4 separate regions of the Homo sapiens genome follow, and regions 2, 3 and 4 are each linked to region 1. Evidence: promoter capture Hi-C in human tissues and cell types (Jung and others, 2019). All regions are on one chromosome and are shown on one strand. Each heading gives the region's core, a stretch centred on a gene start or on the middle of the fragment in contact. The rest is flanking DNA. Distances are from core to core; before and after follow the strand shown.

Region 1 (6,898 bases), core at 2,902-5,401:
ATTGGAGAAGCAAGATAGAGAGAGGTGGGTTAGCCAATAAAGGGGGTGTACATGAGCAGGATGCTGCACAGAGCACTTGGGTTTTACTTCCTCTGGAGTCCCTCTCAAAGGCTCAGTGGAAAACACCTCGATTTTCCTGTTGGCAGGGGGTATAAAAAAACGGAGACTTTTTTTTTTTAACAAGCTCCATCCTTCATTGGTTAAGGGTTGCTCCAGGCCCCTTTAACTCTGATGCTCTTCTGGGCTTCCCCATGCATGGGGCTTAACAAATTTCTGTGGCCAGAGAGAGCCATCAGGCAGAGATGTGGAAGCTTTAGGTAAGAAGCTACAGTGTGTCCATGAAGCTGCAGATGACCTGCAAGGGAACATGCTCCATCCACTTGCAACAGCCATCATGACAGTAATGTCTTCTCATCTGTGTGCCCAAACATGTGCACATGTGCATACACACACACACACACACACAAATGCAAATTGTTGTACCTTTTTCTCATTTGCACTCCCCCTCACCATGACCATGTAAAAATCGAGTCTCCAAATAGTTTCAGCCCTGCTGAGCCATATAGCCTTGCCTTGCAATACGAGCAAGTAGAAGCAGTTATCTGTAGCCTCCCAGGCCCCAGCTACTCCATTGTAAATCCATGCCAGTTTCTAACTTCAGCCCAGCTGGAAAGGCTAGGACTTGCGTTGGCTGTTTTGCTTAAGCCCTGCTGAAGGGCAACATGGGGTGATGGGAAAAACTGGAACAGATGTCAGGAATTTGAGGTTTCTTGTGTCCTGTCCGCCAGTAAGTTACATAACTTCCTTAGTTGACTTCTAGAACTTAGTTTCTCCCTTGGTAGAACTAGAGTAATAATACCCGCCCTATTTGCCTCCAAGAGTTGTAGGAAGACTCAAAAGGAGCCAATTCACGTACCTGGGATCACCTTGACGTGGCAGGGATGTTCCTTGCAAAGCCTTATCCTGCTCAATCTTCACCTAATTACGTTGGTTTTAGGCTTGAAGCAGGGGCCTTGCTGGCTGACCTCTCAAAGCCTCCCTTTCCCTTGTTCCCATGTGTAGCATTCTGTTTTGGGAGCACAGAATGTCCTCTGGTCTAGAGGAAGCTAAGCCACTGTTTGCAATCAGTCCAAGCAGATCAAGTTAAGGACCAGGCCATTTTGGAGGCACACAAGGACTCCTCTTGGCAGATGGGCACGACAGGCTTGCTTGCAGACTGAGTGGTGAACAGCCCCTTCCATCTCTTCGTTTGCTTGTATCAAATAGCAAATTCCAGAATCACTATACAGAGTGGTGGATGGGGCAATACAACTTACCCAAAATATTAATAGGCACTCATGAGGGCACCAGCTGTTGTGACTAGTCTGTGTCATTAAGGCCTGTGTGATGTCAACAGAGAAGCCATTGTTGGCTGGACCTGCCCCCACCAGCTCAACCAGGGAGTGTTTGTCAGTCACTTAGGAAGAGCTGCCTTAAAGGGTGAGTGTGGTTCTCAAAGGTGGGAAAAACTAACAATTCTTGAAGAGGACTCAAGGTTTATTGGACCACCAAATACTGGAGTTGATGCTGAAGTCTATAACAATGGTAACAATACTCAGGGTGTATCCATTGTGGGCCCAGCCAATGGATACTCTGGGGAGTATTGAGGGGAGGGGTGTTGAGTCCTTCTACACAGGCTCAGAAAGAAAGGTTCTTATCATCCACTTAGAAACAATGGAAGCAAAGTAACTCTCTGGGACAGAAACTTTGTCGGTCAGGGAGAGGCTTGAAGGAGACTCTAAATGGTTCCCAGAATGAATTCCCACGTAAACCTAAAGAATGCTGATGGAGAGAAGCCACTGCTCATTCTTCTTTTTAAGCCAAATAATATCCTTCTGCCGGAACAAAGTTGTTCTTGGCACTTGGAAGTAAATGTGAGGAGGGAATCAAAACACAACGCCTGAGAGACAAATCCATAAGAAATCTGAAGGCCAGGACGTGGTGAAAAGTAATAAAGATAGAAGGGTCAGTGGCAGGAACAAAGATTAACTGTACCAGAGGAGATGGCGCTTTGGCTCTGAAAATAGGATTGAGCGAAAGCCGGAAGTGCTGCAGAGACGCACGTGTCCTTCGTTTCCACCCTGAAGGCTCAAAGGAAGGCCGCTGCCCAGCCACGCGGAGGCTGCAGGACAGGGTTCTGGAAGCTGGGGCCTCCTTGCCCTAATCCTGGAAGGATATTCCACATCTAAATCACCGAAGCTTCATCCTGTGATGCAGAAGCTCTCCCCTTGTGAACAACCAACACAGGAAGTAGTGAAACCTGGTAGAGAGAATATTATCTTTCTCCACCTTCAATTATACCAGAACTGCCTCCAGGGACTTTGGCAGGTTTGACAAATGGCAGAAGAATTTAGAAGATTTTCTTTGCTGGCAAAGGGAGCCAATGGTTGGGCACAAATGTGCTGCTGCGGTTGTTTGTACAATGAAACTCTAGATTGTAGGCAGAAATGTCAGGTTCCTTTCAACTCTCTTCAGAGCTAATCTAGTTCCCATGTGCAAACTCAATCTATAGCATTTGGGTAAAGAATACTCAGTCCTCTGCTGTGACAAGAACAAATTCATCACCCACACCATACATTGTAGCTAAGGGCATCATCGTGCCCACATGAATCACCAGGCAGAGACGGCTGCCAACTCTGAAATTCTTTACTCATGGAAGACTCACGTATACTAATGCCGACTATTTACGCAAGCACATTTCTCCAGGTGGCCTGGAGCAGTTTACAAGATGCTGGCTCATTCCTCATCATGCCACTTGGAAGGAGAGCAAAAGGTGGGGAAAGAGGAAGGGCCAACATCATCATCTGCATTTTATGTGGGGAAACTGAGGCTCACATAAGCCGTAAAGTGAAATGTATAGACATTTATGAGTCAGAAATCGACCATGGAAGAGGCAAAATGAGCTTATCTGAATCATGAGTGGACTATTTCTTGCCCAACAATTTCATGCAGCTCTTCCAACACAACTGTTTTGATACAGCAGCCTCAAAACAAGCCAAAATTCAGACTCGCTGTATTTGGTTTATAACCAGTTTCCCATCTTTCATTCCTTCTCTGACTTCTACCTGACTTCTGAATTTGGTTGACCCTGTTTTTTTGTTTGTTTGTTTGTTTTGTTTTACTTTAAAAGACCCTCAACCCTCCTGGAGTCCTGACCTGCTATTTCTTTCATTTTGAACCTCTACCAGTCCTTTCCTTCATCTGTTACCAATCCATACACCCTTGATGCCTGGAGGTAAGATTGACAATGGAGGGGGGGAGGTGAAGATCAAGGTTGAGGTGAAGCTCACAGATGGCCTGCAAGATGCCTATTTTACTCATCATTTATTTTTTAAAAAGCTGAACATTTATCGGCTGAATCTTTGAGCCATACCAAAATATCCTCATGTCAAAATAGCTGCAGTAAAGTGGTTCTATTAAAATAGCTGCCTCCAAAGAACTGAGAGTGGAGATGTCACCTGCTTCTGGCACCTGACTTTGGTCCTCTTCTGCGTGGCATTGCCTTCTGCTCTGCTGGATTCTGGCGTATGGCTCATCAGAGGAGGCACTAACATCAGGGCTGCCTTTTATCTTGCTGATCCAAGCGAGGACTATGTAGGTGTCACAGATGAAACTCGTCCAGAAGCCGAACAGGATGCTAATGGCATGGCCACGTGTTTCCAGCACCCTGTGAGGCAGCTGGCTGGCATCAATCCTCTCCCCAGCTTCCATCCCACCCCCATCCACCCATAAGCTCTTCTTGGGTCAGAAATGCAATTCTTTGATGGTGCCAGACAGCCAGATGATGCTGGAAAGAAGAAAGAAAAAGAAAAAGCAGGTTTCTAAATTAAGCACAAGGCTCGTTTATAAAAATAAATAGCCACAGCCTAGCAACGTGCTCACAGCTCAGCTTTCCTCCGTAATAAAACCTCTGTGGCTGAAGCCTGGGATGACACAGCCTTCAGAGGGCCCCACGCCCTGGCCCTCCTCATGCCCTGGCCTCTCCCAGGATAATACTCACCTGGAGAGTGCTGACAGTGGTACTTTTGGGGCCCCACTCTTCATTCAAGGCCAACCAAAGGCCAGGCTCCAAAAAGCAGAAGGAAGGCAGAGCTTAATGAGGCCCATGAACACTTACAGACTCTTGGCAGTAACTAATACACCTGTAGCAAAAGTGGTTGAAGTTCCTTGGGCTACTCTGTTGAAATAGGAACTTCTAGTTAAGACCATGTCTTCTTTGTTCACCATTGAACAGTACTCAGCTAAGCACAGGGCACGTATTGAGTACTCAACCAGTATGTGAGGAAAGACTGGTTAGAGGTATAAATGAATGAATGAATGTTGCCATCCCATTATTGATGCTCTCCAAACTCTTCACTACAAATGGAGTCAGTTCCAGAATCCAAAGCCAGCATTCTTCTCCTGATTATGACATGCACCAAAGAGGCATCCCCTGAGCTGGATGTTTAAATCAGAGCCCACAGCTGAAGTGAGCACCAAGATGTACTGAGCAAGTGTGGACTCTTACTGATCCAAGTGGTGAGGCTCTTACAATGGGCAAGGGCAGAGGGCATGCGATATGTAGGTAACTATTGTTAGCATTCCTGAATCTTCTCCTGTTCTTTAGGCAGCAGCAGCTTCAAGGGTGAACTGTTGCTCAGCAGAGAAATGGCAGGAAAAAATAGGACATTCGCTTCTGGCCTTAGTCCTGTTGGAACACAAAAAGTGGAGTCTGCAATGCTGTTGGAGGCTCAACAGGTCAAATACATCAGTAATGGGCATGGTATGGCTGGGGTCATACGGAGACAGTCCTTAGAGCACTGAAAATGTGATCATCCTGAATCCCATAAGGATCCTTATGAGGTTAGAAGGGACAATGTGGCTCCACTTTGATGACTGACAGCAGTTGCTTTGGTGAGTTTCTACGTATTCCCTTGTGATCAGAGAGTGGTACAGGACAGCATGTCAAAATCGTAAACCACCATCTCAGAGCAAGGCCCCTTAGTTACAATATTAAAAAGATCAGAGAAATTGGCACATAGCATCATTTAGAAATCTGTCTTCAGGCATCTTTGTCTGGCCTGGCTGGAAATAGTAAAACCATATTTATGTCATTGAGAAAAAGGTTCTTAATTAAATTCAAATGTATAAGAATATATCGTAGGTCTATTTTTGGAACAATAATCTGGGAACAAAAAAAAATCTAAACAGCAACAAAACTTGTACAATAGCATTTAGCTTCAGACAGCAGCATACAATAGAGAAGAAGGAGTCCTCATAGACTCTGGACTCTTAGATTGATTCAATCCCACAAGCTAGAGCACCAAAGTCATGGCACTGGGACATTTAGGAAGAGGAACTCTAGCAGTGACCTGATTAGGAGACAGCTCCAGCAGAGAGTCAGCACATAGACTGGCCAAGCTGCCCCCAGATCTTTGGTGATATCTCTTTGGTGGAGATAAAGGAAGCCCTTTCCAAAGCAGACCAATTATGGCATCCACAACCATAGTCCCTGCTCCAGCCTAGTGAGGACACAGTATGTTCCATAAGTCCCTAAGGCTCTATGCCCAGGGCTCCCACTTCTGACACGGCTGCTCAAGGATAAGACCCCACTGACCCCATTCTCTATGGAGGGTACAGAAATCCATAAGAACAGAGCCCAATACTCAGCTCTGTGACCTTAACTACTTGGAAACTGATTTTCTTTGTTCATAAAATAGAGAGAGTAAAAATAATGCTTTCTATCTCCCAAGAGTGTACGAGGATCAAATGAAACACTATTATGTTCAAGTGCTTCCCAGTCTGCAAGCTATTGTTCCATGTGACCATGTTTTATAAAATGTAAAGGTATACAGTGAGAAGTTTGCTTCTGATGTGAGGATTGAGACTTCCTTTGTCACAAACTTTTAGGGTGCTGTCTGGTTCCATCTTATTCATAATACTATTTTTTTTTCAGAGACCCCTAGCCATTTCCTTGGCTTCAAATACCAAAGACCTAGCATTTCAAAATTGTGTTTCTGTAACTGCTTCTTTCCTCTTACAATCCCTCAGAAAGTGCTGCAATTCTAGAATGCATGAGGAACCTTGGGGCTCACAAAGTCCACCACTTCACTTTGCAGATGTACACACAGAGGCACAGAAAGTTTAGGCACTTGTCCAAGGTCACGTGTGGAGTTTCACTCACCCTATCCTCAGCTTCTCCCACAGCCTGCCAGTGTCTGCCCTCCAGTGGGTCTTTGAGGGCCACAATTCAGATTCCACTCTTCCGCAGCTGGGACATCCATCTTCTGCCCTCGGACATCAGAGCTCCTTGTCCTCAGGCCTTCAGACTCCAGGGTTTACACCAGCAGCATTCCCCCGCTGGTTCTCAGGCCTTTGGTCTTGGACTGAATTACACTATCAGCTTTCTTGGGTCTCCAGCTTGCAGGTGGCATATTGTCACTCCATAATTGCATGAGCCAATTTCTATAATAAATCCCTTCTTAGATAGATAGATAGATAGATAGATAGATAGATAGATAGATAGACAGATGGTAGATAGTAGATGCATACATACATACATACATACATACATATCCTATTGGTTCACTTTCTCTGGAGAACCTTGACTGATACAGATTTTGGTGCTACACTCCCTCAATACTGACCATATTTTCCCACTTTTAAGTGAGTAATTGTTACTTAAGCTAGGTGTGTTATTTAGGATGTGAGGGATGGGGAGCCGGAGGATGGTAGACAGTTGAGGGCAAGTGGATTAAAGCATGGCAGTAATGGGAACAGGCACCTCTGTGATCATGATGCCTCATCTTAGATTATACCTTTGGAATTTGCCTTTTGTTTTTGAAAAAATAAATATATAACCATTTCATTTTTGTAGTTA
Region 2 (6,898 bases), core at 2,427-4,926, 60 kb before region 1:
CCACAAAGAGGAACTTCATGAAGGATAGTTCTGTCTGGTGCTATCATCCAAGACTTTATCTTTGTAATATGTGAAATCAGTCTGTTAGATAAAGATTAGCTCACACACTCAGTTTTTTTTCTGAAGAAGAACTTGTAGGAAGGTGAATTCTAAAATACAAATTGTGTGACTTTTGGCAGGACACTTCCCTCTGTGCCTTTGCTTCCTTATAGATAATGGGAGGTGGAAGGATTAAAATAAGTCAGGATCCTAAATCACTGGCCCACCAGAGAGCAGTGGCTTAAGCACAATAGCTTAAGTTCCTCCCTGCTTCAAAATTTGTTGGTGCTTTTATGTTAAGCAGCATTGATATTAAGCAGTCATGGTTCATTGTTCCACCCAGTTCTAGGCTAGATATATATAGCCTGATACTTTATAGACTTCTAAGGGATGATCCTCAAACACATCAGAAATATAAGAAACCATAGAAATAAGTTCCTGAACATCTACCACTGCTTACGAAATAGTTGTAAATCATTTGTCTCCAACTATATTCTTCATATAGTTATAAAATTCAGGACTCTATTCCAAGTGAGGAAGCAGATCTTCTCTTCAGTTCTGCAACTGTTGAAACTTTAGGTAGACTCAATAATAATGACTTAGGGCAAAACCTTAAAATTCAAGCTCTTTTAAGGAAGAACACATAATTTTAACCACATAAACAATCTTACAATCCTCATTCAGATCAGATACCATAACACTTTCTTATCAGACCTTAATGAATAGAAATGCAATTTCTTATAACTTAAATTCTGAAAGAATTACGTGACATGAGACAGAAGAAGGAAAAATGTATTGAACAAAAAAAGCCTGATACATCCTCATAAAGTTATTGGTCAATATTCCAAAAAATAGAGAAATAATCATTAATATATGCCTTTTTTTTCTGGATATAAATAGACTTCACTTCAGGCTGTCATCTTCACTGTGTTCTTTTTTTTTTTTTTTGAGATGGAGTCTTGCTCTGCTGCCCAGGCTGGAGTGCAGTGGTGCAATCTCAGCTCACTGCAACCTCCACCTCCGAGATTCAAGCAATTCTCCTGCCCCAGCCTCCCGAGTAGCTGGGATTACAGGCATGCACCACATGCCTGGCTAATTTTTGTATTTTTAGTAGAGATGGGGCTTCACCATGTTGGTCAGGCTGGTCGCGAACTCCTGACCTCGTGATACACCCGCCTCAGCCTCCCAAAGTGCTGGGATTACAGGCATGAACCACTGTGCCCGGCCGACTGTGTTCTTTCTTATGTAAAGAATTTCAAAATGACCTGCCAACAGGGTCCCAACCAGCCGGAACAAAAGAAATGGCATCACCCACCCTGGTGTTCTAACAAGAAATTGCTTTGGAAGAGCTGATTGGCCTCTGTTTTCATATGACACCTGATTCATATCCTTGACAGAATTAATTTTCAATGAAAGGAGAGCTCATTACTAATTCATTGAAATGGCCCTGTGCATTGAGAGCCAATTCTCCTAAACTTGACTTGAACATCCTTGTGTGGCATCGTCCAGGAAAACAATCTTGCCTCCTTGAATGGCCTTTAACACCTAGAGCCAGGAAAATTCCCTGACACATTTAGACTCTGACTGGGGTCAATGTTCAGCACCCCACAAGCACTCCTAGGGATAGTGACACATTTTCCATCTTCTCTCTTGTTTCCATTACTCCCTGGGAAGGTTCACATTAGGCAAGCATCAATATTTTGATGCAGTGACATGATAAATATCCACGGTCAAGGCTTGCAATTGCATTTTTGAAATGTCAGACAGAAGGGAGTAAAACAAGCAAATAAAACCAACCAAAAACACCACAAAGAGAAAATATATTAAGTGTCTTGAGAGATGTCCTATAGAACAATCCCTTACAGAAAAAAAAAAGAAAAACCTCAATCTCAACATGTCTAAAACTGAATTTATTATTTTCCCTCCAAAACCCGGTCTGTGTTTCTTAGAGAATGGCATCACTGTTAAACCCACTTGTACAACCAAAGAACTAAAAAGACATCCTTGATGACTCCCTTGCCCTCAGCCACCATGTAGAATTCTTCACCAACGCCTGTTGATTTTACCCCTTAAATATCTCTTGACTCTGACTCCTCTCCATCTCCACTGTCATCACTATCATCCTTCATCTCTAGTCACTGGTTGTGTTAGGTCATTCTTACACTGCTATAAAGAAGTATCTGAGACTGGGTAATTCATAAGAAAAGAAGTTTAATTAGCTCACAGTTCTGCAGGCTCTACAGGAAACATAGCAGCATCTGCTTCTGGGGAGGCCTCAGGAACAATCCAATCATGGCAGAAGGCAAAAGGGGAGCAGGCACATCAAATGGTGAGAACAGGAGAGAGAGAGAGGTACGGGGGAGGTGACACACTTTTAAATGACCAGATCTCACAAAAACTCACTACTACAAAGACAGTACCAAGACATGGGGGATCTGCCCCCATGATCCATCTGCCCCCATGATCTCCCACCAGGTCCCCACCTCCAGTGCTGGGGATTACAATTCAACATGAGATTTGGGTGGGGACAAATATCCAAACTATATCACTGGTAAAAACTGCTGGATTGTCTAGCCTCCTCTGTTAACTCTGATCTTCTACAATTTATTCTTATGCCACAGCTAGAATAATCTTTTTCAAACATAAATCCAATAGTAATATTGCTTTCTGGATAAAGTCCAAGATCTGTACATGACTGACAAAATTCTGAATGTTCTGGCCTGACCCACGTCTTCAGCTTGACTTTGAGCTACTTCTCTTCATACACTGTGATCCACTGTGCTTTAGTCACTTGGACCTCCTTCCAGTTCTTCAAACTCATATGTTTACTTCCAACCACAGCATCTTTGAGGATGACATGTGCCCAATGTCTAATGCTCTTTGGTTCACACTTCTTCTTCCATTCACCTAATTAGCCATTATTCATCCTTCAGAGCTGAGATCAAGTGTCACCCTCTCAGAAAGGCCTTTCTTGATTCCCTCAGTCCAGCCATGTTCATTGTCATAAAACTGTCTTCCTTTACTTCAGAGCAAACAGCTAATGTGCAATTTTACATTCATTCATCCTTTAATCTATTGTAAGTTCAATATAGGTGGGGACTATGTCTGACTTTTTTTTTTAATCATTGTTTGTTTATTCTACCAGTTTCAGTGAGAAATATGTTTAAAAGCTTCCATTGTGATTGTGAATTTTCCTATTTCTGCTTTAATTGTATCTTTTTTTATACATTCTGAAGCTACACGATAAAACACACAAATTTAAGCCTATTTGATCATCCTAGTGGATTTTCACTTTTACAGAGGGTCCTTCTTGACTTGCAATTTACTTTGTTTTAATATTAGTATAACTATGGCAGCTTTCTTTTAGTTAGGGTTTGTATGGTGTATCTCTCTCCATTATTTCACTTTTTTTTCTGTATCTTGTATTCAAGATGCTTCTCTTGTAAGCATTGCATTATTGGGTCTTGTTACATTTTAATACAGTCTGACAATATAAATGTTAAGAATTATTTACATTTAATATAATTGCTGAAACCCTTGGGGTTTTTTATGTTATTTTTTCCAATTTGTTTCATCTGTTCTACATTTTTTCCTTTACTTTCTTTTGAGTTAATCAAATTTGTTTTGCTATGCCATTTTTTCACATCTTGGCAGTTATAAATAATCTTTTTACATACTTTCAAAGGTTATGTTAGAGATTCAACATGCATTCTGCTTTGGTTAAAGTATAATACAAATTTGTACTTTTATCAATTTCTGTACAATTGAAGCATATTTGAACATTTTGACTTTATCTTCTTTCTGCCTTTTAGGCTATCATTGTCATGTATTTTAAATCTACATATTAAAAATTTAAAACCTTTATTATTAGTAGTATTGGCTTATACAGTCAATATTTATTTAGATTTACTTACATATTTATCTTTCTTTTACTATTCATTTTTTGCTACAATTTTTTGCTGTCATTTAGCATCACTTTTCTTCTGCCTGAAAAACTCCCTTGTGTATTTCCTTTAGAGCAGGCATTAGTGACAAATTCTTCCGGAAAATACAGTGTTCAAGGCTGTGGGTCCAGCTACAATTTTGCTGGAAACACAGAGAACAGAGGACTTGTTGGGCTATATTCTATGATTATGAGATTAATGAAATCTAGACTTCAGGAAATTCTATAGGTCAAACAGCCTTAGATTTTCAACAGATAAAGTCTGAGGAGAAGAAAGGAATAGAAGGAGGTGCAGTGGATTAAAAGAGATTTATATATCAAACATTTTTTAATGGGCAATTCTAGACTATAGTGTCTAGGGATGCATATGTGGGTAATAAAGCTATAAACACAAGAAAGAGATTACAATAAAAGTGTAAAGGTTGCTTCTAGGGAAGGTGGTGCATTGTGATCAGGATAGCACACAAGGAACATTTCCAAGTGGCTGGAAAAGTTCTATTTCTTTATGGCAGTTACAAGAGTGTCTGCCTTAAAATAATTTATTAAGCTATACATTTGTTTTGAGTGGTTTCTGTCTTTGTGTTTTTTTATTTTACAATAAAAATATACAAAGTAAAAAATGAATTAGAAATTAGTAAAATTTCAGCTTCAGTATTTTTATTATCTTACTTTGGCAGGGATATTTTACAGTTTAGGATGACCTACCATTGTCTTTTGCATCCATAATTTTGGTTAAGAATTCAGCTGTCAGCCTTACTGTTCTTAAAGATAATGTGTCCTTTTTCCTCTAGCTATTAACATTTTATCTTTGTCTTTGGTTTTCAACAATTTTATTACTGTGCACGCTGCTGAAGTTTATTTGTATTTGTCTATCATTGGATTCATAGTGTTTCTTATAACTGTGAATTCAAATATTGCTTCTACCCATTCTTTCTTTTTTCCTCTTTCTGACATTACGATGTCCTAAATATCTCTTACTGTCTTTTTATCTTGTTTGACTCTCTTTTCCTCTCTGTGGTTCAGTCTAGATATTTTCTACTGACCTATATTCTAGTTCATTATTTCTTTCTTCAGCTATGTTCAGTCTGCTCCTAATTAATTTCTTGAATTTAAATTTTATTTATTGTGTTTCAGTTCTAGAATTTCCTTCTTATTCTTTTTTATAGATTTTAGTTTTCCGTTGAAATTCTCCATCTCATCAACAACTTTCATTCATATATTTAATAAAGTATTTAAACTCTGTGTCTGATAACTCCAGGATCGATATAGTATCTAGATCCCCTGTGGATCTCTTTCTATTGTCTCCAAATGATTTTTGGTCACTTGGCTTATCTCCTTGTATTCTAGAATATTTTTAAAAAGAATGCTGGGCTTTATTCTTTGAAAAATTATAGAGATTATTTGAAGTTCTGGATGATGTTATCTTTCTTCCTAGAGGTTAATGCCAGGCAGTTAAGTGAACCAAGTCACCTTAGTCCAACTGGGCTGAGCTGCTTTTACTTTTTGTGAGAGCTGGTCTATACCTAGTTTGCCTTTATGCTTAGATTGCTGTCTTTGAGGGATCCCAGCTGAAAGCCTAGGGTGTTTCTCAGTGCCTCTCCTCATTGAGCCATGACCTCCAATTTTGTTCATGAGATTGTGAAAACTATCTTCAGCCACTTATGAGCAGGCTAATGCTTCAAGGACAAAGTAGAACTGCATTTTGATCTTAACTTCTTTGTATTTATCTTCTCTCTGGAATTTTGTCTACTGATGCCCTTGCTGCCTTGATAGCTCTCATAATCCTTCAAGTAGTTTTTAAAATATATTATCCATTTTTTCCCAGTTCTTTGTGAAGTGTTGGTCTAATAGAAGGTAGTCTGTCATAGTTACAAAAAAAAGTCTCTTTAACTACTATTTATTGATCATTTACTCAGAGGTCCTGTTATTTCCTCACATCACTCTGAGTTTTTTCTTTATTGAACTCTCCACAGTTTATAATTATTTTTATGTTTCTTTATTTGACATCTGTTTCCCCCTTAGACTGAAAACTCAGTGGGCCATCAGGAATCATGTGTTTTGCTTGTCACTGAATCCTTGATATCTAGCCCAGAATAGGCACTCAATAAATATTTTTAAAAAATGAATATAGGCTCTTGGTCTAAGCATTTTACATACTTTATCTCATTTAATCCTTTCCACAACCATATGAAGCAGGTATTGTTAGCTCTGTTTTAGTGAAGAGATAACAGAAAATTAGAGAGATAAGTAACTTCATAAGGTCATTATATGTAAAATGTTCTGTATAACTCCTTTTCCTGGACGCCTCATCATTATGCTTCTACAACCTGTTATGTGCAGCCAGCTTTTTATTTTTCAATATACGGGTTATAAAATGTGTTCCAGTTCCTTCTCTTCATTTTCTTCTTCCTCCTTTTGTTAATATTTCATGCCTTGTTTTTTTAGGCCTTCAGTGCTCGTAAGCATTTCGTTACCCAGTGAGCTGGAAAAATAAAAGACGATGAAGCTCACATAGCTGAGCAAGGAGTCTATGCTCCAAAACACTAAGAGGAGGGTGCGTCCTCCCCTCCCCTCCGGCCACAATTGGTAGCTTTGGTAATTAGACTCATTCATTTAAAATTTTTAAACATTTAATTTAATTTTCTTTTAAAATACACTTTATTTTTTAGAGCAGTTTTAGGTTCACAGCAAAAATGAGCAGAAAGTACAGAGAGTTCCCACATACCCCCTCACACACATACAGAGTGATGCATTTGTTACCATCGATGAACCCACATTGGCTCATTCATTTTTATGCTGTATAAAACCATCTGGGATCGTGTGTTTGCCCAGTTTCAGCTACCTTGTGTTAAGAGTCCTCTTTTGACCTGCAGTTAAAATTAAAAAGTCTCTGCTTCTTTGTCAGCATTCATTCTG
Region 3 (6,898 bases), core at 394-2,893, 43 kb before region 1:
GCTCCTGACTCCAGGTTCTGTTTTCCTGCTATGCCCACAGATAGGATGTCAAATCCAAATGATGCCATTTCCCCTGGCAGTGTGTGCGCTCACAGGACCCACATGGTGTATCTGTAAGGCACACTGGAGTAATGGATGGAGGCCATTGGCCCTTGGGGACTGGGTGGTTACAAGCCTGGCCCAGCCACCCTGAGGGGTGAGAGACATTTTTCTCTCCATACACCTGTAACTCATCCCTGTGGGGAACACGAGCTGGGAAGCTCTAGGCTATGTAGTCTGGCTCCCTACTCTTCCAGAGAAAAACAAGAGAGGAAAAGATTTTGGCCTGATCATGTTCTAACTGTGCCTTCAGTGTTAATCATGTACTGTTTTCTACACTTGCTCAGCAGCAAGATCTCCTATGCACCTGGAACAGGGCTCTGTGCTAAACCACGTCAGCAGAAGTTGGCTGTGGGGATTGGGAAAGAGGATGGATGCCAAATGTCTAGCACGGTGGTGACAACAGGAGGTACTCAGTGAAGAGCATTCTCTCCCACCTCCCCACCCACCCGTAGAATTGTTACCAACAGCAGCCTGTAAACCACAAGGGGGACATCGAAGCTGACTTCCAGTAAACCAGGCTTGCTCAAAGTGGTTAAGAAAAAAAAAGGAACTTTTGCTTTAAACATAGCTTTAAGAAGAAAAGTTGTTTCTCTTTCAACTAATACAAATATATTTAATATTTGAGATGTTGGCTACATCCACCCTTAATATTATTTTGAAAAGTTCAAGCAGTAACAGACCACAAATTGAGAGATATGCAGGCTTCCTCAGATGTGTCAGCTCGATTACACTACTTACTCTGTGGACTTTCTGCTCAGAGATTAACTGTAACCGTTTCATTTCATTTCACACTTGCCCATTTAAAATGGTATGTCGCTGAGCTAATGCACTTAGCATAGCCATTTCCTGTTTGGTTTTCCTTTTCTATTTAAATACTGTAAAAGACATTGCACTATTCCCTGTGTGGGCTTTAATCAGTAAGTCTAATTTTATTGTGTAAATTACATAACCAGTGGCCTACAAAGGCATCTGCTTCTAGCCAGTTGTGTGACCTTAGGCAAGTTACTTATTTTCCTTGGTCTCAGGTCTTAGTTAAAAAAAACAGGATTAATAACGCCCCCACTGTTAAGAAAATTAATTGTTGGGAGGATTGAGATAATGTGCTTACATTTCTTAGCATACAGGCCCCTTCCCAGATTCTTGTAGGAAGGTAAGAGAGTAATAATTCAGATTCTGAATGTGCTAGAACTATTCTAAATGCTTTTTGCACATTTACTTAATCTTCTCAAGGACCTTGTGAGCTAGAAACTATGATTATTCTCATTTTACAGAAGAAGAAACTGGGACATAGAGAGATTAAGGAACTTGACCCCACACACAAGTAAGTGGGGTCAAGTTCATGCAGTTGGTTCCAGAGGCTGAATTCGTAGCTCTACGACCCTTGCCAAATGTAGGTTCCTAACATTAACATTTTTGGGTGATTCCATATGTCTGTGATTCATAAATTTTTGTGAGAGAAAGCCAACTTCTCTTTTAATATAGTCAAAGTGCTGGACAGAAGTTTAATAATTCTATTAGTATAGCCTCTTTTCCCAAGAATAATACTAGATTCAAACCAAGTCAGATAAATGGCTGCCCAGGCACCTTCCCCTTCTCTGCTAAATGTCCTCTTAATTTAACCAAAGTCTCAGAGAAAACCAAAATCTGTCCTTTGAGTTTCAAATGAATTGCCTCATATTCCCATCTGAGGGATGCTTGCACCCCTTTCTCCTCCTGGATTCTAGATGGAGAGGGAAGGTGTAGCTTTATATGCTGCCGGTCAAGTTCCAATTCTTTCCACAGAAATATTAAATCTATGTATAAATATGTGTATCCCCACGTTGTCCACTGTGGGCTTTCTCTAACATGTGGATCTGGATGTCAAAAATCCAATCCCTTCCCTTAATTTACACACACACACACACACACACACACACACACACGTCTTTATCTGTTCTGTTTTGTAATTTATATATACTTTAGATCCTTTGCTGAAGACTTGGATAAATAAAGGAGTTTATATGATACCAATTCCAACAAATTAAAACAATTTAAAATTGATGTTATATAATTTTTTTCCATCAACTGGGGCCTGTACCACGTGGTTCAACAATCTCCCCACTCTTCTACCCAGATTCTCACGAGTAAAAAAATAGTACACTTTCCTTTTTTTATGCACAGCAAGTCAACCCTGTCTTTGTCCTATCTTTTCCTTCCATAACTTTCCTTAGGCTTTTTTGCTCAACTCTTTGCATCAGGCTGGCTCATCAAGGTAGGAGAAATTCTGAAGCCAGCTGCTGAGATAGTCTGTTTTCTTAGATGGCATAAAGATTGTCCACAACTGGAATAAGTAATGCATCTCTGAGATTAACCAACCTTGACAGTTACATAGCAAGTTTCAACATCCCATTTTAATTCTCTCTCTTACAACTCAAGGCAACTGCCTCTTGTCCTTTGTTCAGAAACCCAGGGTGCAGGATTCATTAACCCTTAACTAATATTCCATTGTAGAGATTGTGGGCTTCTTGGTGTGAAAGCTGTTTTTAATTTTCTCCAACCCTTGAGGCCACTGACTGGAGGTGAGGAGACAGAAAGTGAGGCAAGAGAAGAGGTTACCTGGGAAGGCTCTCAGCACTATGGGGGTGGGAAAGAAAGAGCACTGATCAAAGGACAAAGGGGCAGACTTTAGGTGGCACCACTGGAGACGACTCAGAGAAGGGACCATGGCAGAGACAGGCTCAAAGCTTGACTTGTCTGGGAGCCCTGCGAGAATAATTTTCAATTTTCAGTAACTGAAAATTAGGTCCAAGTCTGCCCTGTTTTACGTTTTGCTAATGTGCAGCAAGCTGCCATTTTCTTTCCTCTATTCCTTTGATCTCATGATCAGCATTTCCAATTAATATTTGTTTAACACCAGGCCTGGGGTAGATATTTGGAGAATAGACTGAGAAGAAAATGCCCGCACCCTGCCCTGGAAACTTTCGGAGATGCCTGCTGATTGTTCTGGTACTGCTGTGCTCGTAACTTCAAAGCAAGTGCGACAGCCATTCTGCCCAGATTCAGTCCCAACCAGCTTCCTACTGGGGGAAGAAAGAACACAATAGGAATTAGTTAAATTTCCAGTTTTGCCAAATACATGGACTTTGGCACGCAATCAAAATGTTTTTATAAAAGTTAAAAATGCTTTATGAAAGTGTACACTTACAAAGTAGAAAGCTGTTCAGCCCTAGTCCTACCAGCCCTGGGAATGCAGACAGCCTGGTCCTGAAGGATGGTGGCCGGGGGCAGTAAGATCTTCCAGCAACACTTCAGAGTGGATGCCATCAGATGACGGCTTCTCCTCAGGGAAGCCATTTGCCATCAAACAAAAATATTTCCTTTCATTTAATTATGTGGATTTTTGCTAAATTAAATGCACTAAGAGGCTGGGATCCAACATTTACAAAGGAGAAATCTCAGACTCCTCTGGTTTCTGCTGGCCTGTGCTTTCTTGAAAACAGACACCGGGCAATGGAAAATGTGGTAAAAGTTTTAATGCTCATGCTAAAAGGAAAAACACCTTTCCTTTCCTTTCCTTTCCTTTACATTGGCCAGCCACGCCTGGCAAGGCAAAGACCAGCTGAGTGAAAAGTCATTTGTGCAAAATCCAGCCAAGCTGTCAGTTGAGCTTAGCAAGTAGTGACTTGGAAACAAAAAAATTAAGGGAAAGAAACTCATCTTCAGATATATTTTATTTTGGTGTTATATGACAAGGAGTAGATTGAATTCACCTTCAAACAAATGTTTTCGAGAAAATATCCCAAAACATACCATTTTAATTTATATTATATTAATGCTTGAAATGAAATGGGAGAAAATGAAAAGTAGTGAAAACCATTTTCCATAAAGTAGGATATATTTGCTCTAAAATTTCCTATGTGATGCTAGTCTTTTATGGAGCTGAAAAAAGGAGGAGGTAGAAAACAGGGACTCCTAACAATATCTATTAGTGTTTTCTCTAATTCAGCCACAGAGGGCTTTACATGTTGTTCTTTGCTTGATTCCAAAACATGTGTCCCCAGGTGGGAAAAGAAATCTGGTTGTAGGGAGAGGAGAAAATTCTACTGTTAGCTTTTCCACATGGCTTTATTAAAAAATCATTTTACTTTTTTTGGGAACAATTTTTATATATGAAAAATAGAAACATAGATGCTTCCTGACAGATCCCGATGGTCCCATGCCTTGAGACTGTACTCAGAAAGGTGAAGAGATAGAGATGTTTCTCTCTGCTCTCTGGCAAGTGGGGCAGTGCCACACAGTCACTGCCTCAGCACCACCACCTCCCTGTCCTAGCGCCCAGGGCAACTTAGGATGCTTCTGAATCTGTACATAACGCTGAAGTCTGCAAAAGCCTTCTCTAACATTAAATTCCCTTGTCAACTCTTAGGCCCCTTTAAACCGTGAACAAGACGACCCTTGTTCTGGAAAATCTATCTATCTTGCCAACACACACACATATACAAAAACACAACTGTTGGGCAAATAAATCTTTCCAGAGAAAATAGATTCTTTTCCAATTCAGTCAACTGTACTGAGCTGGAAAGCGAGAAATGTTATTTTTCCAGGATGAAGGAAAAACAAGATCTCTCCTTGTTTGCCCTGTCTAGCCCATTTCAAAAGAAGGTCAGTTTAATGCCTTCATTTAAAAAAAAAAAAAAAAATCTCAAGTGTTGTGTATCAGAAGACACTTAGTTCCTTTCAGGCTGGGAATCGCACATTGAGGCTCTGTGTTTTTTTCCCTTTGACCTAAGATACACATGGCAGGGCTGAATTGCCTACCGCTCTGGAGATGTCAAAAGTATCAGGAGTGGGAAGGACGGAGTCTGGTGATGTGGAATTCTTTGCTATTGGCCAGCCTCCTGATTGCCAGCCTGTGTCCCACTCCAGTCACTGAGCATGAAAGATGCAGCTTATGAATTGATCCCCATTTCATTCAAGGCCACACACATTCTCCATGCTTACTTCTCCATATTCCCCATAATTTGAGGGCCTGGATCATCCCCTTGGAGAGTGAGAAAACATGGAGTTATAATGTTCCTGGCTGAAGAGCATGGAATAGAATATAAATTAGACACAATGCTTGTCTATTCCCTGGGACGCTCTTTAGGACTTAAAATTCTAAGTCTCAAGGAAGTCCTAACTATAGCGACAGTAACTGGAGTCTGAGGATTCCAGCTTCCTTGTTCCTCGACGCAAATATAGGCTTCACATGTATAGCATGTAGCATATAGTTGATGCCCAGTAAAAATTTGTTTCTATTTTTTCACCAAAAAATTTCTATTTGCCATTAGATATGGCAGAAAAAAGGTAATAATTTCATATATTTTCATTTCTTCCAAGCATCATTAGTTCTTGTCTTACCCAATTTGTGGTTGCCATAAGGGTATGCAATTATGCATATTTATTCTCTGCCTCATCCCAAACCTATTCCAAACAGAATAGCCTAATATATGGCTGCTGGGTCACAGTGGCACATGAGCCAGAGCCAAATGGAAAAAAATGCAAAATATCTTATTAGTAACTATATTGATTACATGTTAACAAGATAATATTTTGTATATACTGGATTAAATTCAATATATCATTAAAATCAATTCGACCTATTTCTTTTTACTTTTTTAATATGGCTACTAGAAATTTAAAATTACGTATGTGGCCTGCACTATATTCCTATTAGATAGTGCTGGTGTAGACTACTCTATGAAATATAGAATTAATAAGGTAATAATTGAAGGTAAGGGCCTATGGTAATAACTAGCCTTTATGGCACATTTACTATGTCTGGCATTTTATATGATTTTATTTCATTCTAATTACATTTATGAAAGGTAATTATTATTAGCCCATTTGTTGAAAGTATTCTGCCCAAAATTTTATAGCATGCTAACAGAGCTGGTATTTAAAATCTGGGTTTCTGGCAGTAAAAAACATGAGCTTTACAATCTGAAATGATATCTCTTAAGTATTCTTTAAAAAAAAAATTCCCAAGAATGTTGACATCAGGTGACCTGGAAAAAATAGGAGTATCTGTTCCATTAGTTCCTAATTACGGCTTTAAAATTTTGATAATCTGAAAATCAGTGTTATATATTTTTTATTACTGAGAGGAATAGTAATAGAAACATTGGTCTCTAACCTATGAATTTAAACTGGAGAAAATTACAAATTAAGCTTCTGTCTTTCCTAAACACAGAAGAAAAGGGAAACTTATTTGATGGGAAAGAAGTTAATATTCATTGAGCACCTACTATTTCCATTCGTGTCCCATAAATGCATTATTCTTAACAGGTCCAAAATGGAAAACATCATCTTTTTTTTTTTTCTACAGTTTTTTTTTGTTTGTTTTTCTTTTTTTTTATTATATTTTAAGTTTTAGGGTACATGGCACAAGGTGCAGGTTTGTTACATATGTATAAATGTGCCATGTTGGTGTGCTGCACCCATTAACTCGTCATTTAACATTATGTATATCTCCTAATGCTATCCCTCCGCCCTCCCCAACCCCACAACAGGCCCTGGTGTGTGATGCTCCCCTTCCTGTGTCCAAGTGTTCTCATTGTTCAGTTCCCACCTATAAGTGAGAACATGCAGTGTTTGGGAAAACATCATCTTTATCCCCAAACCAGCTCCTCCTCATCCTCCATTCTCTATCTTAGGTACAGTCACCTGAATCTACCTTCTCACTTATGCCAGAAACCTCATTCTTTTCTCAGCTCCTCTCGTTTCTTTACCCTCCTTTCAATCTTGCCAGTTTATAGAACACAGGTATTCTTACTTT
Region 4 (6,898 bases), core at 1,762-4,261, 37 kb after region 1:
AAAAAAACAAACAACCCCACCATCAAAAAGTGGGCGAAGGATATGAACAGGATCCCTGCTTTCTTTCTCCTCTTTTTTGAGATGTTTCTTCATTTTCTGGGTTTGAGCTATAAGCTTTCTAAAGATGACATAGGTGGAGTTCAGCAAAGAGAGGGAGGAAATGAGTGTTCACTGGTTGGTTGCTGCTTCCTCTGTACCTGTGGCCCGGCCGCCTGCATGTGGTGCCTCTTCTCATCCCCAAGAAAACCCTGCAAGAGTGGTGGGCCCTTAGCCTTTGCTGTTTTGTACATGATGTCCCTTTTGTCTGTGATGTTCCTTTTGTCCATGATGTTCCTTTTATCTGAAATTCTTTTTGATTTCTCCCTCCACTCACCTTCCAAATTTCTACTCCTTTTCAAAGCCCAGTTCAATTACTATTTCTTTTGTGGCATCTGCCTGAATTCCCCAAGCCCCATTAATCCCTTTGTCTGAATTTCATGGCACGAATGTCATCCTTCTATTAGATTATTTACCACATTACAGTACACAGTGTAGTTTGCTAATTTCCCTCCCTGTCCCCTAAGGTTGTCTTTGGGGTGCTAGAGGACAAGATGAGGTCTTATCTCTCTCGGCATCCTGACATCTATCACAGTGCCTAACCCATAGCAGGTGTTTCACAAACATTCCTTTATCGTGTAATAGCTAGCGTTTGTTAGCTCAGCGCATTATCTCAGGCAGTCCTCCATATAACCCTATGGAGTTGGTCATTATCTGATGAGGAGAGTGAGCTTTGAAGAAGTTAAATAAATTGCCCAGGACCACACAGGCAGAATCAGGACGTTAACCAGCACAGACTGAATCTCGAGTCCACACTGTGCTGCATGGCCACCCTCTGGAGGCCTGTGATGTCCCCTCTGACTGCTGCCCTACAGCCAGCAGAGACGATCACTGAACCCAGGCACTTGCACAGCCCAATGCTGAAGAAGGCAGGTGTGGATGCATGAATGAAAGGTGAAGGAGCAAGTGAGTAAACCCACTCTCTGAGTCTTTCATACAATCCAGCTTTCATTCCTGCTCATTCACCCTACCCTCTGCTCCTCCCTTTTAGTCCCCTAAGTACCCCTCCAGCCCTGACCTCCCTTGTCTCACACTGACTTCCTGCAGCACCTCATTGGTGGGTTCCTCAACCCACAGCCTCTTTTTTCCTGTCTCCCTCCCTGTGCCCCACAACACATACAACACCTAAAAATTAATTCTCAAGCCCTGTTGTCAGATCCACACTCCAGGATTGATTTTGGCTTCTGACTCATTGTTGAGTAAAATCTCAGCACTCAAGGCTAACTGTCATTTCCCTACATGTATCTATCACTCTAAACCAAGCAGCGTTGTTGACTGCCCCTGGCCTGTGATTTGCCTGTGTTGCCTCCAGATCTTTTCCTGAGCTATTCTTCTGTGTTTTGAACACCTGTCCCATATCAGGAAATGAGCTGGGTTCTGGGAATACAGAGATTAAAACTTCAGTCTCTGATGCTCCTAGATTAGTGCAAGACAGCTGAAAGAGCAATAACAAAGTCCCATCACTATGGCAGGTGATTCAGAGGAAAGCCCAGGTTGCTATGGAAGCACCTAGGTCATCTACCTTCCCCATCTCCAATAACATCAGCCCTCAGAGCCTTCTCCGTCTGACCCGACTTACCTCTCCTGGGGGGCTTTCTGTGCCTGACGCTTCATCTGCTCCTCTCATTTATGCCAAATTTTCAGAATATATCTGTATTTGTTGATTTATTCATCTGCAACAATATATTTGCTGAACGTGCCTCCTCAACTGGTGAACTGTAATGGGGGAGGAGAAGACAAAAGAAGGCCAACTGGAAGAAATGAAAATGGTGTGTCTCCTTAAGGAGGTTGGATCCCAGAGAAGGAAGATAATGGGAGAGAGAGAGGTGTGGCTTTTGTTGGGCTTCCTCCTAACTATCCATTTTGGTGATGGCTGAGTGTGTCCTGAAGAGAAAGGATTACATGTAACTCAAACCTGATCCACAAAACTTCTGTAGTCCAAGCAACTTCGTGTGAGACCCTTTAAAAGAGCAGACCACAAAGTTAGGATGCAGTGGCTATACAGCCGAGCTGACCACTGAGCACAGGAGACAGAGCCTTGGAACTCTCAGAGATACTGGGGCGGGGAGGGGCTCGTATTGTGAAGGGAGGACCAAAGTCCCACAGGGGCATGCAGCTGGGCAAGCAAAATCTGGTCTGCAGTCGTCCGTCTCACTTGGGTCTAAGGCTAATGAGGCCTGGGGAACACTCACAAGGAGTCTAGTTATGGCTCTGTAGTAGTTTACCCATTGACTGAAGCAAAACAGTCTCCACAAGAGATCCCAGGAGAAACAGAACAGCTGGCCAGGCTCACCTAGCTGGTCCCATAACTTTTCCCACCATCCTGCCAGGCAAACCTTGTCATCTCAGCACCTGGATCCAAGACACTTTGCTGCCATGTTTCCTCACATCTCATCCTCTCTCCCTTCCTAGTCAGAATTCCACATTTGTCACTTTCTGACCTGCATTTGACAACACTCAATGTTGTCTTATCCAAACAACATCTATGATTCAGCCTTCTTGCCCTCAAGTCCAGCATGTTCCCCTCTGGCTCCAAGCCCCTTTCCCTCCAGCCTTTTACAACCACATCACTCCATGTAAGTCACTTGTCCTTTGAACCAGCTGATCTGTGGGCTGAGGAAAGGGTGCTGGGAGCTGAGCTGTAGATGTTCTCTTTGCTGTCTGTCATTCTAGGGGCTTGCCAACATTGGGCAGAGTCTCCTGCTGGCTGAAACTCTCTCACCACAAAGGATTTCATTTTATGTCAGCAGTTTCATAGGCTGAGGGAGTGATAGAGATAAGAGAAACATGAAGAGAATATGCCACAATGACTAAACTCAAGATAGATTTGGGGCAGAGATGTAGAGATTTGGTAAAAGTCCAGAAATCTAAATGCTGGGTGTGCTTACTAAGTGTACCTGTGCATTAAGCTAAGCAAATGGATTCCCTGTCTCCTTGACAACCAGAATACAAACATGTCTTACCTGAATTATCCATTCTCTTTGCCAAAGCCAGTGCATAATTAGTTGGGGAAAAATATACATGCAAGATGAAAGAGTCCACAGCTCTTAAACAATATCCCTCATTGCTCTCTGGTGGAGAGTTCACCTACTCAACCTCACTAACATCTCCCTTGCCTCATTTATCAGCCATGCCTTTCACTTACTGGTGAAAAGCTAATATAGCCTTGCTTCTCCCTCTCAGTCAACACTATTTAAGGGACTGATAAGAAAATTCACTAGGAAGGTTTTTCTGGAAAGCTCTCTATTTATAGAGACACACTGAAGTAGCCATAGACACCAACTGTTAAATTGCCTCCTCTGTGTGTGAAGGCCATGTTGTCACCATCTTAGACAAGGAGGAGATACCTTTCCTCCTCCTCATGGAGACCATGCTTCTATTTGCTCTCTCGGCATGCAACACCAGCCATCTCAGGGATTTGCCTAACAAGCTGGACTATTTCCAGGATATGGGAGGCAGCAGCCTCTAAATGCTTAGGGGTTTTAGGGGCACGGTCTCCTAAGACAAGCAGCAACCAGAGTAAAGAAGTCAGCCCTGAGAAGATAGAATCTCAGCCCTCAAGTCTGGAATGTTCCTTCCCCTATACCTATCCTCACCATCACAGCCCAGGGCTAATGGGTGGACTGTCAGCATGGGAGGACCATGCCCTGACACCCTCCTGGTGGGACACAAAGGGCCTGAAGGCTGCATTTAGAGCGAGTCATCACACTGAGCACACACACACACACCCCAGCCTTGTACCGCAGGGCAGAACCTCCCCAGGGGTGGAGGAGGAAAGGATGGGAGCCAAGTGGGTGACAGGAAGAGAATAAACATCAGGGTAGGGGCCCTGGGTCTTCAAAACAGTGTGAAGCAACAGGATGAATGAATTAAAGTGGATTGCGCTCCAAGGCCCCACACCTTGGTCGCTATGTCAGGTCTTTTCAGGATAAGTCTGAACACTGTGTGAAGAAGAGAAGGGGTGTGAACGTGTGTACGTGCAATAGGGTATGTACACCACTCCATGTGGATCCTGTGTGCATGTGCTGGTGCTTCTGGACGTGTACAAACCCATATGATGCTGCAAACTATACAAGCACACCACATGTTAGCCTAACCACAGAAGCATTGCCAAACCCAGTTCTAATGTGAAAAGCCTCTTCCAAGAGTTGACAGAAACCAAATTCAGGTTCACATTCTGGGCATCACTTAGCATAGCTGGGGAAGGAGGAGAGTTAAGTAATGAGATGCAATGGAGCAAAGAAGAATGTCTACCCATTGTCATCACCAACATCCTGGTGGGGAGGTCACTTGGTGAGGAAAAAATAGGACCCATTATGAATGAGTTGGGATTGGATTCCTGGTGGCCTTCCCAGAAAGCATTCTGCTGTCTTGTGAGAAGCAGGAACCAGAGACAGAGAGGCTGGCTGTGCAGATTCCTTCCAACCCTGCCAGCGGTGGCTTAGTGTGAGGTGCAGGTGGATTTCTTGACAGGGATACATATCTTGGAAGTGGTAACAGATTTATGGCAACTAATTGCACAATAATAGCTGGCCCGAACAGAGCTCTTGAGCAATTGCCAGAACTCTATATTACTACTATTCATTTACATAACAAACATTTTACACCTACTTATTGAGAATAACTAACCTTTATTGAAGGTCACATGCTGTTCTGAGCTCTACATATCTATTAATATCCACAATGACTCTATGAAGTGGGTACTGTTGTTACCACTCACATTCTACAGAGGAGGAAACTGAGGCATAGTGAGCTTAAGTAAGTTCCCCAAAGTCTCTCACTGTATGCAAAAGCCAGGGTTAGAACATAGGAAATTTTATTCCAAATCCCACACTTTTAGTCAGTAAACATATCTGCTTCCTATATTTACTTTTGTACAAAGCTAGTACAAATACTAGGCATTTGAAAGAAGCTAAAATATCATGATCCCTACCTTTAAAGGAGTTTATAGTCTTGGGGGAGAAACAGACAGTGCTGCTTTCTGACTTAAGCAAATTCAGCCTTTCAGAAAATTTCAGGTTCTTTTTACAACTACTATTAACCTCTTGAGGTTAGAGACTTCTGGGGAACTATAAATCCCTTCCCTATGACCTCAAAAATGTCTAATTGAACTCCATATGACATATAGATGCATATTGGCAAGGAAGCACAAATACACTCATTCAACTTGTTCGGCAGTTTGGGGAAGACCCACTCTGGCCTAGCCACTCCAGCAAGCACCATGCATTGAAGACTCCAGCTGGGGCAGATGTCGTGATAGTTCTAGGACAGCACTGGACAGTTCTGGGTGGGATCAGGCAAGAGGGTCCTCTGTGAAGGAAGGGACAGAGGGTCATGGGCTGACTGTGGTTCTAGGTTTACCACCTTATTGTGCCTTGTTCATAAAGGAGAGCAAAGCAATATTTCTAACTACTCCCAGTCTTGACAATATTCATATTACCAAAGAAGTGATTTCACTGAAGATGTGGGGAATGCTAAATAACGCCCCTGCAGATTCTGGTTCATGATCAGGCTCCTCATGGGCTGGCTCACCACCCTGGAGTGTTGCTTCTGATTTGGTGCTTAGGCCTCCTGTTTTACAGGTCCCACCTGATTACCTCCATGTGTCCAAAATCAGCACCATTGAGTCATTTTGTTCTCGTATGCCTTCCCCAAATGGTACTTTGTTGTTCCAAATTAAAATAATTGGCTGGGCGCAGTGGCTCACACCTATAATCCCAGCAATTTGGGAGGCCAAAGTGAGAGGATCACTTGAGCCCAGGAGTTCGAGATCAGCCTGGCTAATACAGTGAGAACTCGTCTCTACAAAAAATTTAAAAATCAGCTGGGCGTGGTGGTGTGCACCTGCAGTCCCAGCTACCCTGAAGTCTGAAGCAGGAGGATCGCTTGAGCCCAGAAGGCCAAAGTTGCAGGGAGCCATGAACACACCACTGCACTCCAACCTGGGCAACAGAGCAAGACCCTGTCTCAAATAAAACTGAAAAATATAAAATAGAATAACAGAGAACATCCCATAATATAAGAAACATTGTAAGGACCTGAGTGTAAGGCAAAGCTGTCTATATCAAAGGATACTTTGGGGGAAAATATGCCTTATATTTGTTTGCTTACTGTCATAGAAGAGCACCTAGTTTGTGCCTGACACAAAGCAGGTACTCAATAAATGTGAGTTTTCTTCTCTCCCTCACTATCTCACTTGGTTTTCATGGAAGACACTATGAGGAAGCTGTTATATTTATTTTACAGACAAGAAAACAAAAGTTTAGAGTTTAAGTAACTTATCTAGTTCATGTGACTACAAAGCGGCCACTCTGGCTTCTAACTGGAGCACCCATGCTCTTCCTACTATGGATACTGCCTCTCTGATAATCATAGCTGAGCTTTGCAGATGTGCACTGACAAAGCCCTTCCACATGCCCTGTGTCACTGGATCCTCAGAACACTCCTGTAACATGAGAATCATTATTTTCTTCAATTTTAAGTGAATGAAGCACCATGGGGAATTATAGCAATCTGCCCAGGTTTTCTAAGGTAGCAAATGGGTCCATCAGAATTTGAGCCCATGTTTTAAACATTGCCCAAATCTTTGCTTCTGGTACCACACTACGTGGCATCTCAGCGTGACACCCAAGGACGGCCAAAGGGTGAGCATAAACTGAGGGCTGGGGATCTGGTTCACAATCCAACTTGCTCATCAGTTTCAGAGCAGCCCTTAAATCCTACCTCAGCTCCATGGAGAGGCCACTTTTAATAATTATACCAACATTTTCATTACATGTTATTGTTTACAAAATACCTATCT

The links. Contacts are between HindIII fragments. The study calls those that stand out against the background at their distance.
Region 2: a contact is called between a fragment that was not itself captured here and the fragment with the promoter of SMIM2 in region 1, in 1 of the 25 tissues and cell types used here (aorta).
Region 3: a fragment that was not itself captured here is called in contact with the fragment with the promoter of SMIM2 in region 1 in 2 of the 25 tissues and cell types used here (spleen and thymus).
Region 4: a contact is called between a fragment that was not itself captured here and the fragment with the promoter of SMIM2 in region 1, in 1 of the 25 tissues and cell types used here (bladder).

Annotation. Positions count from the first base shown.
Region 1 is chr13:44,157,106-44,164,003 of GRCh38, forward strand. SMIM2 (small integral membrane protein 2) reads right to left here and starts at 4,152. Exons shown (of 3, transcript NR_197392.1): 1 at 4,040-4,152; 2 at 3,498-3,826. SMIM2-IT1 (SMIM2 intronic transcript 1) reads right to left here and starts at 1,117. Exons shown (of 3, transcript NR_046843.1): 1 at 917-1,117. RefSeq lists an enhancer at 2,084-3,283. The HindIII fragment of the contact is 7,742 bases long and covers 1,275-6,898 here.
Region 2 is chr13:44,097,144-44,104,041 of GRCh38, forward strand. No RefSeq gene overlaps it. Among named protein-coding and RNA genes, the nearest start is that of SMIM2-AS1, 10 kb to the right of the region's middle. The HindIII fragment of the contact is 4,418 bases long and covers 1,468-5,885 here.
Region 3 is chr13:44,116,605-44,123,502 of GRCh38, forward strand. The region is part of intron 2 of LINC00390 (long intergenic non-protein coding RNA 390); the gene reads right to left. The region is part of intron 1 of SMIM2-AS1 (SMIM2 antisense RNA 1); the gene reads left to right. Among named protein-coding and RNA genes, the nearest start is that of SMIM2-AS1, 9.5 kb to the left of the region's middle. The HindIII fragment of the contact is 5,829 bases long and covers 1-4,558 here.
Region 4 is chr13:44,195,261-44,202,158 of GRCh38, forward strand. It overlaps MIR8079 (microRNA 8079), which reads right to left and starts at 940; the gene lies at 869-940. The HindIII fragment of the contact is 9,857 bases long and covers 1-6,898 here.